5 separate regions of the Homo sapiens genome follow, and regions 2, 3, 4 and 5 are each linked to region 1. Evidence: promoter capture Hi-C in 16 types of primary human blood cells and fetal thymus (Javierre and others, 2016). All regions are on one chromosome and are shown on one strand. Each heading gives the region's core, a stretch centred on a gene start or on the middle of the fragment in contact. The rest is flanking DNA. Distances are from core to core; before and after follow the strand shown. Region 1 holds the start of TMEM35B (transmembrane protein 35B). Region 2 holds the start of ZMYM4-AS1 (ZMYM4 antisense RNA 1). Region 3 overlaps ZMYM4 (zinc finger MYM-type containing 4). Region 4 overlaps ZMYM4 (zinc finger MYM-type containing 4). Region 5 overlaps ZMYM4 (zinc finger MYM-type containing 4).

Region 1 (2,929 bases), core at 240-2,739:
GCCCACAGCTATTTGGTAGTTCAGGGGATCTGGCTGGTAGCCAAATACCTTCAGCGGGAACACCTCAGCAAACTGCACGAACAGGGCATTCTAGGGGTGGCAAGGAATGCCTGTTAGCCTCATTGTTCAACAAGGATGAGCTCCCCAGATGCTCCATGGCATATCTATGCCTGTGCCCTCAACTTCCCAGAGAAAAGAACTACTACTCTAGGTCAGGTCCAGGGCTGAGGTCAGCCTGAAGAGGAGAGGGCTGCCCTGTGGCGCTGAGCTTTGGAATCAGGAAACAGGCTCCATGCTCCAAGTGGTACAGAGATTGATCTTCTCACTAGACCTCTCAAGAGATTACAACCCAGCCCCAAATCCCAGGAGGAGGGGGCTGGGCTTGGCTCCCTAGTGCCAAGGCCTGGGGAATTCCACAGTTTCCTTCTTTGTGTCTGGCCTGGTTTCTCTTAAGGCTGCTGTACAGGGAATATTTGGAGGTGAGGCAGAGTTAGGTGGGCTCAAAGTGACTCTTCTTGTCAAGGCAGGCCCTCCCCTGAGCCAAATGACAACTTCATCCTTACTTTCGGGGATACTTTTTCCTGTTCCCACTCCTCAGCTCTACCTCCCCTCCTCAGCTCTGCTGGGAAGCAGCTCTAAGCTGTCTGTCTCTGGGGATTTATCCAGGCCTTGGAGAGAGATGCCAGCAGAGGTCTACAAGTCTGGCTCTTTTGAGGGACTGGGGAGATTGGTGAACAGGATATGAAAGCTTTCCCATGAGTCTGGAACTAGACAGAAGGCTGAAAGACGACTTCAGGGCATCCCTCTCAGGCTTCCGAGAGAGGCTTCCCTCTCTGGGTTCCGAGTTAGGAGTGTCTAGCTTGTGTCCTGCTTCCTGACTAGATGTGCAATCTTTAGCAGATATACTTGCCCTTCAGGGCGGGCTTCCTTCCCTGCAAAGCCAGGATTACTACACCCCAACCCCACGAACCTCCCAAAAACTGAAGCAAACGGCGAAAAGAGGGAAGAGAGCGGGAAGTGAGCTCATTTTCCCACCGCATCATCCTCCCCCAGGGTCCGGGGGGGTGGGAGGGACCTCCTAAGGCTCTAGATTTGCCTGGGGCCACCAATATTCTGCAGGAAGGGGAGGTTCTGTCCCCTTCCGTCTAGGGAAGATCCAGAGAACTCGAGGAACTCCCCAGGCAGGACCTGCGCCTCAGTCGAAAGCCAGGCGCTTTCCCCCAGCTCCAGCTGAGCCTCGGAAGCCCGAAGGCGGCCTGCCGGGCCGGGGGCGAGGAGCGGCAGGGCGGAGCACACGCCGCCGCGGGCCCGATCCCCTGCCGCCCGCCCGCGCCGCTCACCATCCGCTCCGAAACTGGAGCCGAGATCTCCTCCGAGAGCTTGGCCAACCCCACGAGCGCGAAGAAGCCGCCCAGCAGTACACGCAGCACCGAAAGCAGGAGCGCCATGGCCGCGCTCCCCCCACCGTGGGTTGGCCCCGCCGAAAACCCGCCCCTGCCGCCGGCTCATTTCCTCCCTCCCCGGGGCAGCCGGAAGACTCTCGCCTGAGCTACCGTCCCCCACCCTCCAGGGGGTCGCGAGGCTGCAGTACTGGGGCAGGGCGCCCCCATCTTACAGGTGGGGACACTTGAGGACCACTGGCTGGTAACTGACTAAACAGGCACCTTTGGATTCAGGGAGTGTTTCCCAGCCAATACGGAGTGCTGGCAGACACGGGTGGGTGTCTGGGTGCGGTTCAGCTACCATCAAAAGACCCCGGGCTTCGTTCCTGCCTGTGCCACACTAGCTGTGGGATCTGAGCTGTCACCCACCCCAAAGGGCCTCAGTATCTGCATCTGTATATGGGGATAACTCAGTTCTCCAGAGTTTGTAACAGGCCTAGCACAGTGCCTGCACATGTAAGAGCTCAGAAAGTTATTTGTAAATTAGTAAATTAATTTATAAAATTGTAATAAATCAATAACCATTAATTATTAAATAAGTCTCTTTGCCTGAGATATCTTTTCCCTCTAATTTATCTCGGCTGACAATGAAATGTGAAAGGTGTTTGAAAATTCAGATACTTGCATGGATAGAGAGGCTTTCACTGAACCAAGCCCTACAGTCCACTCCTGGCCCATTTGCTCTTACCTGGAAATCTGTCTAAAGCTGGGATGGGCAAACCATGGGCCAAATTTGGCCAGATGTCTGATTTTTTTCCATGCTTCTCCCCTTCCCCCAAGCTAATAATGTTTGTTTACATTTTTTATGATAAAAACATTTTTTAAAGAAGCTTGTGTGACATAGGAAAATTATATGAAATTCATATTTCAGTGTTCATGAATAAGTTTTATTTAAAAACAGCCACACTTATCTGCATATTGTCTATGGCTGCTTTTGCACTGCAACTGCAGAATTGAGTAGTTGTGACAGTATGGCCTGCAAAGCTGAAAATATTTACTATCTGGCTCTTTATTTAAAAAGTTTGCTAAGCCCTGGTATATTGGGCCAGAAAGGCCCCAAGCAGGGGTCTCAAATCCCCCTGCTGCTTCCATTTATAGTTACCCAAGCTGCTTAGATCTATCTTTTTCCAGCTGGGCACGTTGGCTCACACTTGTAATCCCAGCACTTTGGGAGGCCGAGGCAGGTGGATCACTTGAGGTCAGGAGATAGAGACCAGCCTGACCAATATGGTGAAACCCCGTCTCTACTAAAAAAAATACAATAGACGGGCATGGTGGCACATGCCTGTAACCCCAGCTACTTGGAAGGCTGAGGCAGGAGAATTGTTTGAACCTAGGAGGCAGAGGTTCCAGTGAGCCAAGATCACGCCATTGCACTCCAGCCTGGGCAACAAGAGCAAAACTCCATCTCAAAAAAAAGATCTATCTTTTCCACCTACTCACAACCTTGCAGGGGTAAGTAGCTGGTTGGCTAGAAGACTGAAATG
Region 2 (2,929 bases), core at 232-2,731, 380 kb after region 1:
TTAGTCTCAAAAAAGTACTATTAGCCTCTCATAAAATACTGATAGATTTTACAGTTGTGGTCAGTGTTTACTTTTGACCATCAGTTACCAGTAACTTCTTTCATGGTTCAATAAAATCATAGCTTTAGTTTATGGCACCTTTTCAAAACTTCCTTTGGCTTTTCTTTGTGCTTAATTTAGGTAGTTTTGCTTTTAGCTCACTTCCTAATTCTCTTTTTTACACAATTCATTTTGGTCCTAATTTCTTTACTTTACTATATAAACAAGGTGCTGAAATGTGTGTGTATGTATTTAACTTCCTCTACCCATTTGCTCTTGGTTATTTCTTCAGTTATGATATTCTGGATTTGCCAGTCATTGTCCGTCCTCCTGCCTCTATTACTGGCATAATGTCATTGGGTCTCACAGTTTCATTTCTTCATTCTAATTCTATTGCATGTTTCTATAATGTTTTCTGTAGTATTTTTACAGTTACAGATGCTTTTACACGTACTGTGTTGCTTAATTCGCCTAACAACCCTGTATAAGATGGCCAGAGTAGAGGATGTTAACATTTATAGGTGAGAGAGCTGAGAGATATAGAGATTTAGTTACTCAAGCCCTCATGGCCAGGAAGGAGCCAATCTGGGGTCATAATCAAAGTCTTTTTTTTTTTTTTTTTTTTTTTTAGTCTACCAATCTTTCTGTAAATAAAAGTTGTTTAATTTTAAAAATACCAAGGGAAGGTTTCAAAATAGATACTTTAAAGAGAGCCAGAGACCTCATTTTCCTCTTTTGCCTTTTCCATAGGGTCTAAAAACTGTACATTCAGTAAATACTACATTAAAGTCATGATTTCTTTTTCTTCTTGTTCATAATAATAGAGGACGAGCTAATGTGTAGTCTCTCATTGAAAGAACTCAATTAAAATGGGAAAGCAAATGAACTAATTGTCATAATAGTCATTCACACAGTTTTGGAAAGAAAATGTAGTAATTCAAATGTTGGGGCTCTTTTAGCCATATTGAGTTAATTTGGCAATAGAAACTGTGTTATTCATTTCTAAAATACTTTCATGGGATATTAATATTGATCTTCATTTGTAGTAAACTAAGAAGGTAAAGGTATTGGTAAAGGAATTTTTTTGTGTTTTGGCATGTGTTTTTCTGCTTCTGAAAGCTTTTGGGTTACCAATTAGATATTTACTTCTCAGAAAATATTTATTAGTATTTGGCTACTCATTGATTTGTTTATCAAATACTTGTAAAATTAGTGATCATGGGAGGATCCAAACATAAACCAAACATGATTGTGCCTTGAAGGCATTGTGGACCATACAAACAGTACTTAAGATGTATACTATTTTACTATATTACATAAATAATACGTACTCAAGGCTAAAGGAATCCAGCAGAAGTTTGCAATAGCCATCACAGAGACTAAGAGAGCTGACTGCAGACCGTTAATGTATGCCAATGAGTATTGGTTGTTTCTGGAGTTTTCTGAGATTAAAATAAAAATATTTAAGGAAATTTTCTTTAATACACTATATAATGAAGGAATGTCATGATTAGTCGATGTTAGAAAATCTTTTAATACATATATTTCATCAGCAGGTCAAATAAGGGTATCTGTAATAGTCACTTTATTAGATGCCAAAAGACATCTCATGTAATTCAGACATTTCTTAGAATAGATTTTTTCTTGATCATAGTAAGGAACTACTACTTCAGATCAGTAACAGTTATTGAAGTTGAAGTAAAATGATGGAAATCTTCTGTTAATATTACTAAAAGAATACAAGTTGCGGATGTCATCGTTATTATTTAACTCTTGTTGGATTTTTACTTCAATCCATGTTAAAGAAATTAGAAGAAAAAATAATGGAAAAAGGGAAATAAAATTATCACTTGCTATTAAGAATATTTATGAAAGAATTAATAGAATTCATGAAAATTTAGTGGAGTACCTAGTTGAATTATACCAATACTTCTATAAATAAACTTCCCAGTTAGATGATATAATGAAAAAGATACACTATTCCCAGCAGCAACTAAAAAGTACTTATATCAAATACAACTTGAAATAATGAAGAGACCATCTTTTTAAATGTAAGAAATATGTAGATGTCAGTTATTTTTAAATTAAGATTTAAGGCCAGGTGCGGTGGCTCACGCCTGTAATCCTAACACTTTGGGAGGCCAAGCGGGGGGCGAATCACTTGAGGTCAGGAGTTCAAGACCAGCCTGGCCAACATGGTGAAACCCTGTCTCTACTAAAAAATACAAAAATTACAGAAATTAGCCGGGCGTGGTGGTGCATGCCTGTAATCACAGCTACTCGGGAGACTGAGACAGGAGGATCACTCGAGCCTGGGAGGTGGAGGTTGCAGTGAGCCAAGATCGCACCATCGTGCCCCAGCTTGTGGGATAAGAGTGAAACTCCATCTCAAAAAAAAAAAAAAAAATTGAGATTTAGATTTGATGCAATTCTGATGAAAATATCAATGGTTAGGTTATGAAGTTTTGTAGAAGAATAATAGGCATGCACATACACACACTTATTACACATATATTCTAAAAAATGGATGGAGAGGTTGAATGTGGCAAATGCTGTTAAATGGTTGAACATCATACAATTAATTAATTTTTTTTTTTTTTAAAAGACAGAGTTTCACTCTTGTTGCTCAGGCTGGAGTGCAATGGTGCAATATTGGCTCGCTGCAACCTCTGCCCTCCCACCACCCTGGGTTCAAGCGATTCTCCTGCCTCAGCCTCCTGAGTAGCTGGGATTACAGGCGTGCACCACCACACCCCGCTGATTTCTGTAATTTTAGTAGAGACAGGGTTTCACCATGTTGGCCAGGCTGGTCTCAGACTCCTAACCTCAGGTGATCCACCCACCTCGGCCTCCCAAGGTGATTGGATTACAGGTGTGAGCCACCACGTCT
Region 3 (2,929 bases), core at 215-2,714, 340 kb after region 1:
TACAAGGTCAAGTCACAGCCTGGGGCTTGTGATTGGTATCTGAAGTGGGAGGCAGCCTTGTTGGACTGAGCCTTCAACCTGTGGGATCTTACTCTTAATTCTAGGTAGATAGTGTCAGAATTGAAGTGAATTATAGGACACACAGTTGGTGTCTGCTAGATATTTGGTGTGTGATGAAAAAGTCCCACATATCTGGTCACTGAAATGTTCTGTGTTGCGAGACTGTTATAGCAGAAAAATAATCTTTTGTTTGTTTTTTTCTTCAGGGTGCACTTTTGCCTGCCCTGGCTTTGAGAAGTGTAGGATTTCTAATCCTTTATAGAATCTTGATTTCATTTAGGTTCTATTGAAAGAAACTAACTAGATTGTTTTTTGTTTTTAATTTTTAACATTATTCTAAAGGTCTTTATATAAAGCGCTCCTTTTTATTGATTTTGTGTTTAGTCTCCAAAGTTGGATTAAAACTCAAGGTTTGTATAACCCCTGTTATCTGTCAGCAGGTTGGTCTACAAAAAGAATGGGATATGACCTCATACAGCTTCAGAAACCTGTATGGGTACTTGATTCTTTATAGCATTCCCAACTTGGGAGTAAAGTTATTATAGTTGTTACACAGTCACATTGGTCGTAGTATCACTAGGAAAGAGCTGTGAATTCTACTTTGTTCGGGAAGTTGGGTGTGTGTGGGTTGTGTGTGAGATTATGGTACCATAGAGGAGTAGCAGCTTTAGCTTGAAGCTGAGTATATGTTTACTATTGAATTAAGACTGGAAAAGCTTAAGCACTGTGCACAGTGACCCAGATGCTTGAAACTACCTGAAAGGTTGGGTGAGCAGCTATAGGTTATTTATCATGGCTGGAGCATTTGCTTACAGGATGGGGATGTAATGGGAATGTGAAGGCAGGAAAAGATAAAGCTGTAGAGGAAATTAGGGCTAGATTTTGGAGAGTCTTATATATCCACAGAAGTTTGGACATTTTTCTTGGGAGACTTTCAGAGCTGTGTGTGTGTGTGTGTGTGTGTCCTTCCCCTTAACCTCTCAGTACCTCCATTTCTTCACCTATAAAATAGAGGTGTTAACAGTACCTACCTTATGAGATTTTTGGGAGATTAAATTGGATTAAATCATATAAAGTACTTGGAAAAAAAGTGTCATAAACTGGGCATGGTGGTGTGTTCCTATAATCCCAGTAACTCATGAAGCTTAGTTGGAAGGAATTAAATTTTAAAAAATTAAATATTTAATTTTTTTAACCTAGTGATCTTTTTTAACCTAGTGATCCCACTTCTAGAAATTGATCCTACAGATATACTCACATACCTAAGCCATATCATATGTATACAGATGACAACTGCAATATTGCATTTAAAAAAAAAAAAGCAGGAGGCAACCTTAAAATGTTCATCAGTATAATATAATAAGAGACTGTGCAGCCACTGGAAAGAATGAAGTAGATCTCTGTATAATTTTCCAAGATATACTATTGGGTTTTTTAAAAACAGGGACATTTCTATGTCTCTCTTCATTTTGTATCTTTACCAGTCTGAGAGAAAATGGTATCTCAATTTTGATTTTGGGTAAGATTGAATGTTTAGTGCTTGTTTATGTTCTTTGATCACTTTCTATTGGGATAGTACTCTTTAATTGAGTCCAAGATTGCTTTATACATAGAATATTAACCATTATTATACTACTACTACAACTTTTTCATTCATATTACCTTTAAGCTTTTCCAAACAATTTTTTAGAAATATAGTCAAACTTTAAAATCTTTTTCATGAAGATCTCTTTTTCTGGTTAAAAGACTTTTCTATCTTCTAGGGCTTTTATTTTTTTTTCAGTTTATTTTTAACTTATCTGGGATTAATGTTGATGTGAAGTAGTGATTGTGATCCAAATTTTTTCACCTTAAATGGTTGTCATCTTCTAGTTCTCTTTTTTCCTTTAGGAGTGAGAATAGATCATTGGGTTTAGCAGTGTGGAGGTCGCTTATGACCTTGACGAGAAAAGTTTCAGTAGAAATAGTGCAGGCAGAAGCCTTACTGAAGTGGGTTCAAGAGACAGGTGTCGTAGGCAGCATGTATAGACAACTTTTTTTTTGTTTTGGTTTTGGTTTTTAGATGTAGTCTTGCCCTGTTGCCCAGGCTGGAGTGCAATGGCGTGATCTCGGCTCACTGTAACCTCCGCTTCCCAGGTTCAAGCGATTCTCCTGCCTCAGCCTCCCAAGTAGCTGGGATTACAGGTGTGTGCCACCATGCCCGGCTAATTTTTTTGTATCTTTAATAGAGATGGGGTTTCACCATGTTGGCCAGGCTGGTCTTGAACTCCTGACCTTGTGATCCACCTGCCTCGGCCTCCCAAAGTGCTAGGATTACAGGCGTGAGTCACCACGCCTGGCTTTTTTGTTTTGTTTTTGTTTTTGTTTTTGAGACGGAATCATGCTTTGTCCCCTAGGCTGGAGTGCAGTGGCACAATCTCGGCTCACTGCAACCTCCACCTCCTGAGTTCAAGTGATTCTCCTGCCTCGCAGCCTCCCAAGTAGCTGGGATTACAGGTGCCCGCCACCACGCCCAGCTAATTTTTGTATTTTCAGTAGGGATGGGTTTTTGCCATGTTGGCCAGGCTGGTCTTGAACTCCTGACTTCAGGTGATCTGCCCACCTTGGCCTCCCAGAGTGCTGGGATTACAGGCGTGAGCCACTGCACCCGGCTGGACAACTCCTTTGAAGAGTTCTGCTGTCAAGGGGAAGAGAAAAATGAGCAGTAGCTCTAGGGGGATAGAGAGTCATGAGAAATATTGTATAAGATGAGAAGGAATAATAGCATCGGGCCTTGGGACAGTATTGTTCAAAAACAAACTGTTATTAAACAATGGGATTCTTCTCAGTGTAGGCAGATGCTTTCATTCTTTGGCTTACAGAGTGACAT
Region 4 (2,929 bases), core at 128-2,627, 320 kb after region 1:
AGGTGTGAGCTACTGCACCCAGTCTGGCTTTTGCATTTTAAAGAGCTGTTTTTAAAAAGAGAGCCTGATGTGGTGGCTCATGCCTGCAATCTCAGCTACTCTGGAGGCTGGAGGTGGGAGGATTGCTTGAGGCCAGGAGTTTGAGACCAGCCTGAGCAATACAGGGAAACACTGTCTCCAAAAAAAAAAAAAAATTATCCAGGGCATAGTGACCACGCCTATATTCCTAGCTCCACCAGAGGTTGAGGTGGGAGGATCACTTGAGTCTAGGAGTTCGAGTCCAACCTGGGAAACCTGGCAAAAAAAAAAAAACAAAAAAACCTTGTCTTTGCAAAAAATCCAGAAATTAGTTAGGTGTGGTGATTGCCTGTAGTGCCAGCTACTCTGGAGGCTGAGGTGGGAGGATCAGTTGAACTTGGGAGGTCGAGGCTGCAATGAGCTGTCATGGTACCACTGCACTCCAGCCTGGTGACAGAGGGATACCTTGTCTCAAAAAAAAAAAAAAAAGAAAAGAAAAAAAATTGCTTATAGTATTTCTTTATATTCCTTGTAATGTCTGTAGATTTGTAGTGGTGATCTCTCTTTCATTCCTGATATTGGCAATTTGTGTTTTTTGTTTGTTTGTTTGTTTGTTTTTGAGACGGAGTCACCCAGGCTGGAGTACAGTGGCACAATATCGGCTCACTGCAACCTCCGCCGTCTGGGTTCAAGCGATTCTCCTGCCTCACCCTCCCAAGTGGCTGCGACTATAGGCACGCACCATCACACCGATCTAATGTTTGGATTTTTAGTAGAGACAGGGCTTTGCCATGTTGGCCAGGCTGGTCTCAAACTCCTGACCTCAAGTGATACATGCATGAGCCACAGCGCCCAGCCTATATTGATCTTTTGATAGAACTCATTTTTGGTTTCACTGATTTTTATGCTGTTCTTTATTTTCTATTTAATTTATTTTTGCTTTTATCATTATTTGATTGATGTTTGCTTTTATCTTTATTATTTCCTTCTTTCCACTTATTTTGGGTTTACTTTGCTTTCTTTTCCTAGCTTCTTGATTTGGCATCCTTCTTTAAGTTATATCAATAACTTATGGTTTAAAGCTATAGACATTTCTAAGCCCTGCTTTAAGTGCATCCCCAAACTCTTAGTAAGTTGTGTTTATATATCATTCAGTTCAAAATATTTACTGAGTTTTCTCTGATTTATTTTTCTACTTACATTACCATACAGTTTCTTTTTTTTTTTTGAAACGGAGTTTCGCGCTGTCGCCTGGGCTGGAGTGCAATGCCATGATCTTGGCTCACTGCAACCTCCGCCTCCCACATTCATGCGATTCTCCTGCCTCAGCTTCCTGAGTAGCTGGGATTACCGGTGCATACCAGCACACTCGGCTAATTTTTTGTATTTTTAGTAGAGATGGGGTTTCACTATGTTGGCCAGGCTGGTCTCGAACTCCTGACCTAGTGATCTGCCCGCCTTGGTCTCCCAAAGTGCTGGGAGTACAGGCGTGAGCCACCGCGCCCGGCCATACAGTTTCTTTAGAAGTATGCTTAATTTCTAATTTTTGATATTGTAATTATCTTGTTTTATAGTGATTTCAAATTTAATACCACTGAGGTCAGAGAATGTATTTTCTATTATTTCAGTTATTTGATTTTTTTTTCTTTTTTTTTTTCTTTGAGACGGGATCTGGCTCTGTCATCCAGGCTGGGGTGCAATGGCTCGATCTTAGCTTACTGCAACCTCTGCCTCCTGGGCTCAAATCATCCTCCCACCTCAGCCTCTTAAGAGTACCTGTGACTATAGCGTGTGCCACAATGCCTGGCTAATTTTTTTTTTGTATTTTTTTTTTTTTAGATATGGGGTTTCACCATGTTTCCCAGGCTGGTCTCCAGCTTCTGGCCTCAAGCAATCTTCCCACCTTGGCCTTCCAAAGTGATAGGATTACACGTGTGAGCCACCACTCCCAGCCTCAATTATTTGATTTCTATCGATGCTCTTTTTTTATGGTCCAGCATATAGTGTATCTTGGTGCCTCCACAAGTAAACTTTATTTTTTATTATTTTTTAGACAGAGTCTTGCTCTGTCCCCAGGCTGGAGTGCTGTGGCGCAATCTCAGCTCACTGCAACTTCTGACTGCCTGGTTCAAGCGATTCTCCTGCCTCAGCCTCCTAAGTAGGTGGTATTACAGGCATGCGCTACTACGACCAGCTAATTTTTGTATTTTTAGTAGAGATGGGGTTTCACCATGTTGGCCAGGATGGTGTTGATTTCCTGACCTCGTGATCCATCCGCCTTGGCCTCCCAAAGTGCTGGGATTACAGGCGTGAGCGACTGCGCCCAGCCCACAAGTAAACTTTAAAAAGTGCATACCAAGTTATTAGGTGTAGTGTTTCTATAAATACCACTTGGGTCAAGTTGGTTGGTAGGGCTGTAAAAATCTTCTGTGTCTTACTTGTTTTTTTGTCTTGTTCTAACTGACAGAACTATAAATCTGCAGCCACAGTTGGAGATTTTACTTATCTCTTTAGTTCTGTTTTTTGCTTCATGTATTTTGAAGTTGTATTGTTAGTTGCTTCACATATAGAGTTATGTCTTGTTGATGATCATATTTAGTGACTCTATTCTTTTTTCTTTCTGTTTTTTTTAAGATTTTTTTTCTCAGGTGATCTCTCAGCCTCCCAAAGTGTTGGGATTACAGACTTGGGCCACCATGCTTGGCTGAGTGACTCTATTCTTGTCATGTTTTCTCTTCTTTTTTTTTAGAGACAGTGTCTTGCTCATCACCCAGGCTGGAGTGCAGTGGCGTAATCATAACTTACTGCCGCCTCGAACTCCTGGGCTCCAGCAGTCCTCCCATCTCAGCCTCCCAAGTAGCTGGAACTACAGGTACACACCACTGTGCCTAGCTGAGTTTTCTTATTTTTT
Region 5 (2,929 bases), core at 142-2,641, 300 kb after region 1:
GCCCGGCCAAAAGTTTTAAATTTTAATGAAATCCAATTTGTGTTTTTCTTTTGTAGCTTATGCTTTTGGTATCATATTTAAGATGCTATTGCTAGATCTAAGTTCATGTAGATTTTTCCCTATGTTTTCTTCTAAGAGTTTTAGTGTTTAGGTCTTTAATTTAGGTCTTTAATCCATCTTGAGTTAATTTTTGTTTATGGTACAAAGTAAGTGTCCAGTTTCAATCTTTTGTGTATGAATATCCAGGTTTCATAGCACCTTTTGTTGAAGAGCCTGTTCTTTCCCCATTGAGTGGTCCTGGAAACCTTGTTGAAAGTCAGTTGACCATCGTATCAGTTTGGGCTGTCGTAACACAGTATCATAGTCTGGGTGGCTTAAACAACAAATTTATTTCTTACATTTCAGGAGGCTGGGAAGTCCAAGATCAAAGTGCCCACAGGTAGGTTTTATTTTCAGGCCTTTTCTCTTGGCTTGTAGGTAGCCACTACCTTGCTCTGTGCTCATGTGATTTCTTAGTGTTTGTGAGGTGAGAGAGAGTGTAAGCTTTCTGGTGTTTCTTCTTAGAAGGGCATTAATCACATCATGAGAGCTCCACTCTCACTACCTCATCTAGCTGATTACCTTTTAAAGTCCCCCTCTCCAAGTATTATTACATGGGGGGTTAAGGCTTCAACATATGAATCTGGGGAGGAGGGATACAAACATTCAGACCATAACAACGACAAATGCGAGAGTTTATTTCTAGACTTTCAGTTCTGTTCTATTTGTCTATATGCCTGTTCTTGTGTCAGTACTACACTGTTTTGATTACTGTAGCTTTGTAGTAGGTTTGAAATTAGGAAGTAGGAGTCCTCAAGTTTTTTTTTTCAAGATTGTTTTGGCTATTTGGGGTGTGTTGAAATTTCACGTGAAATTTAGGATGGTTTTTTCCTATTTCTGAAAAAAGAGTTATTAGGATTTTGACAGGGATCAAAATTGAATTTGTAAATCAAGGGTAGTTACTGTCATCTTAACAATGTTAAGTCTTCCAGTCTGTGAACATGGAATGTCTTTCCATTTATTTTGGTCTTCTTTTATTTCTTTCAGCAATGTTTTGTACAGGTCTTTTAGTGTACAAGTCTTGTGCTTCCTTGGTTAAATTTTTCTCAAGTATCAATCAGTATAATCTACCACATTAGTAGAATGAAGAAAAAAAAGAACTCACTACAGTCTGTCCTTTGTATCTATGAGTTCCACATCTGCAGATCAAAAATATTTGGAAAAAAAAATAAAAGGTAATACAAATTTATTCCTTAATCAAGGACCAGAGGAAAAAAAATACAACATTTAAAAATAGAGTATAACAACTGTTTGCATAGTATTTGCATTGTATTAGGTGTTATAAGTAATCTAGAGATGATTTAAATTGTATAGGAGGATGTGTGTAGGTTATATGCAAATACTATATATAAGGGACTTGAGCATTCAAGGATTTTGGTATCTTTGGGGGGTCCAGGGTCCAGTCCCCCACAGATACTGAGGAATGACTAAATCATCTCAGTTGATGCAGAGAAAGTATTAAAGAAAAGCTAACATCCTTTCCTTTGTAAAAGCACTTTAATAAACTAGGAAAAGAGGGGAATTTCCTCAACATGATAAAGGCTACCCATGAAAAATCATTGCTTACATCATATTCAGTGGTGAAAGACTGAGAGATTTTATCCTCAGATGAGGAACAAGATGAGGATGCCTTCTTTCACCATGTCTATTCAGTGTAGTATTAGAAGTTCTAGCCAGAAGTTAAGCAAGAAAAAGGAAATAAAAAGCATTCAAATTGGACAGGAAGAAGTAAAACTATCTCTATTTAAAGGTGACATGATCTTATACGTAGAATACCCTTAAAGTTATGCCAAAAACAAAACTGTGCAAGTTAGTAAGAAATTCAGCAAAGTTGCAGGATATGGCATCAACACACAAAAATCAGTTGTATTTATGTACACTAGAACAATCCCAAAAGGAAATTTTAAGAAAACAATTTCATTTACATTAGAGTCAAGAAGAAAAAAAAAATACTGAAACACCTGTATCCCTTTGACTTAACTCCAATAGTCCTTGAAAGATTCCTCCCCGTCCGCCAAAAAAATAGAACCAGGCTCATCTATACATACGCTACTTCAGACCTGGAATTAACTTGTTTTGCAAGACGCCTCAGTACCTTTCAGTGGAAGATGTTATCTGGAGACCACAGCCTGAACTCAGACAAGCTTTTTGAAGTTAGAATCTTTATGAGATGGTGTAAGTTGCTTATTTCCCATTCACTCCTGAGCCTGCCTGCCTCTGTCTGCCTATTTTTTTTTTTTTTTTTTTTAAGAGACAGGATCGTACTCTGTTGCCCAGGTTGGAATGCAGTGGCATGATCACGGCTCACTGAAGGCTTGACCTCCTGGGCTCAAGCAATCCTCCCACCTCACCCACCTGAGCAGCTAGGACCACAGACAATACCCTTGTGCCTGGCTATTTAAATAATTTTTTTTTTTTTTTTTTTTTTTTTTTTTTTTTTTTTTGTAGAGACAGGGTCTCCATATGTTGTCCAGGCTGGTCTTGAACTCCTGGGCTCAAGCAGTCCTCCACCTCTGCCTCCCAAAGATTATAGGTGTGAACCACCCTGCCTGGCCCTAGCTTATCTTTCTGTTTTGGCACTGAAATTCTTCTCTTTAGGAACACTGAAATGATCTAATAATCACCAAATCTAATGGATGCTTTTCAGAGATTATTTTATTTGACTTTTCTTAGATCTTTATTTGACCTTTCTTATTTCTGTTGCCCTTCCTTCCTCGACTTTTTCCTTGTTTTATGAGATGGCATTCTCATGGTTCTCCTCTTGAATTGCTCTTTTTGCGTGCTCAATAAGTGTTATTCCCTCAGCTTGTATTTTCTTGAGCAATCTCTT

Evidence for each region. Contacts are between HindIII fragments. The CHiCAGO score rates a contact against its expected background, and 5 or more counts as called.
Region 2: a contact is called between the fragment with the promoter of ZMYM4-AS1 here and the fragment with the promoter of TMEM35B in region 1, in 1 of 17 cell types (megakaryocytes). The highest score is 5.4, in megakaryocytes.
Region 3: a fragment that was not itself captured here is called in contact with the fragment with the promoter of TMEM35B in region 1 in 1 of 17 cell types (megakaryocytes); the score reaches 5.0 in megakaryocytes.
Region 4: a contact is called between a fragment that was not itself captured here and the fragment with the promoter of TMEM35B in region 1, in 3 of 17 cell types (naive CD8 T cells, megakaryocytes and naive CD4 T cells). The highest score is 5.7, in naive CD8 T cells.
Region 5: a fragment that was not itself captured here is called in contact with the fragment with the promoter of TMEM35B in region 1 in 2 of 17 cell types (fetal thymus and naive CD8 T cells); the score reaches 5.9 in fetal thymus.

The regions. Positions count from the first base shown.
Region 1 is chr1:34,983,858-34,986,786 of GRCh38, forward strand. TMEM35B (transmembrane protein 35B) reads right to left here and starts at 1,490. Exons shown (of 3, transcript NM_001195156.2): 1 at 1,341-1,490; 2 at 1-90. The coding sequence starts at 1,448. ZMYM6 (zinc finger MYM-type containing 6) reads right to left here. Exons shown (of 16, transcript NM_007167.4): 16 at 2,308-2,929. RefSeq lists silencers at 1,049-1,118, 1,179-1,468. The HindIII fragment of the contact is 1,524 bases long and covers 747-2,270 here.
Region 2 is chr1:35,364,596-35,367,524 of GRCh38, forward strand. It overlaps ZMYM4-AS1 (ZMYM4 antisense RNA 1), which reads right to left and starts at 1,482. Exons shown (of 2, transcript NR_046659.1): 1 at 1,371-1,482. The region is part of intron 5 of ZMYM4 (zinc finger MYM-type containing 4); the gene reads left to right. The HindIII fragment of the contact is 9,120 bases long and covers 1,157-2,929 here.
Region 3 is chr1:35,320,589-35,323,517 of GRCh38, forward strand. The region is part of intron 1 of ZMYM4 (zinc finger MYM-type containing 4); the gene reads left to right. Among named protein-coding and RNA genes, the nearest start is that of ZMYM4-AS1, 44 kb to the right of the region's middle. The HindIII fragment of the contact is 525 bases long and covers 1,203-1,727 here.
Region 4 is chr1:35,302,797-35,305,725 of GRCh38, forward strand. All of the region lies in intron 1 of ZMYM4 (zinc finger MYM-type containing 4), which reads left to right. Among named protein-coding and RNA genes, the nearest start is that of ZMYM4, 36 kb to the left of the region's middle. The HindIII fragment of the contact is 6,308 bases long and covers 1-2,929 here.
Region 5 is chr1:35,284,268-35,287,196 of GRCh38, forward strand. The region is part of intron 1 of ZMYM4 (zinc finger MYM-type containing 4); the gene reads left to right. Among named protein-coding and RNA genes, the nearest start is that of ZMYM4, 17 kb to the left of the region's middle. The HindIII fragment of the contact is 1,700 bases long and covers 542-2,241 here.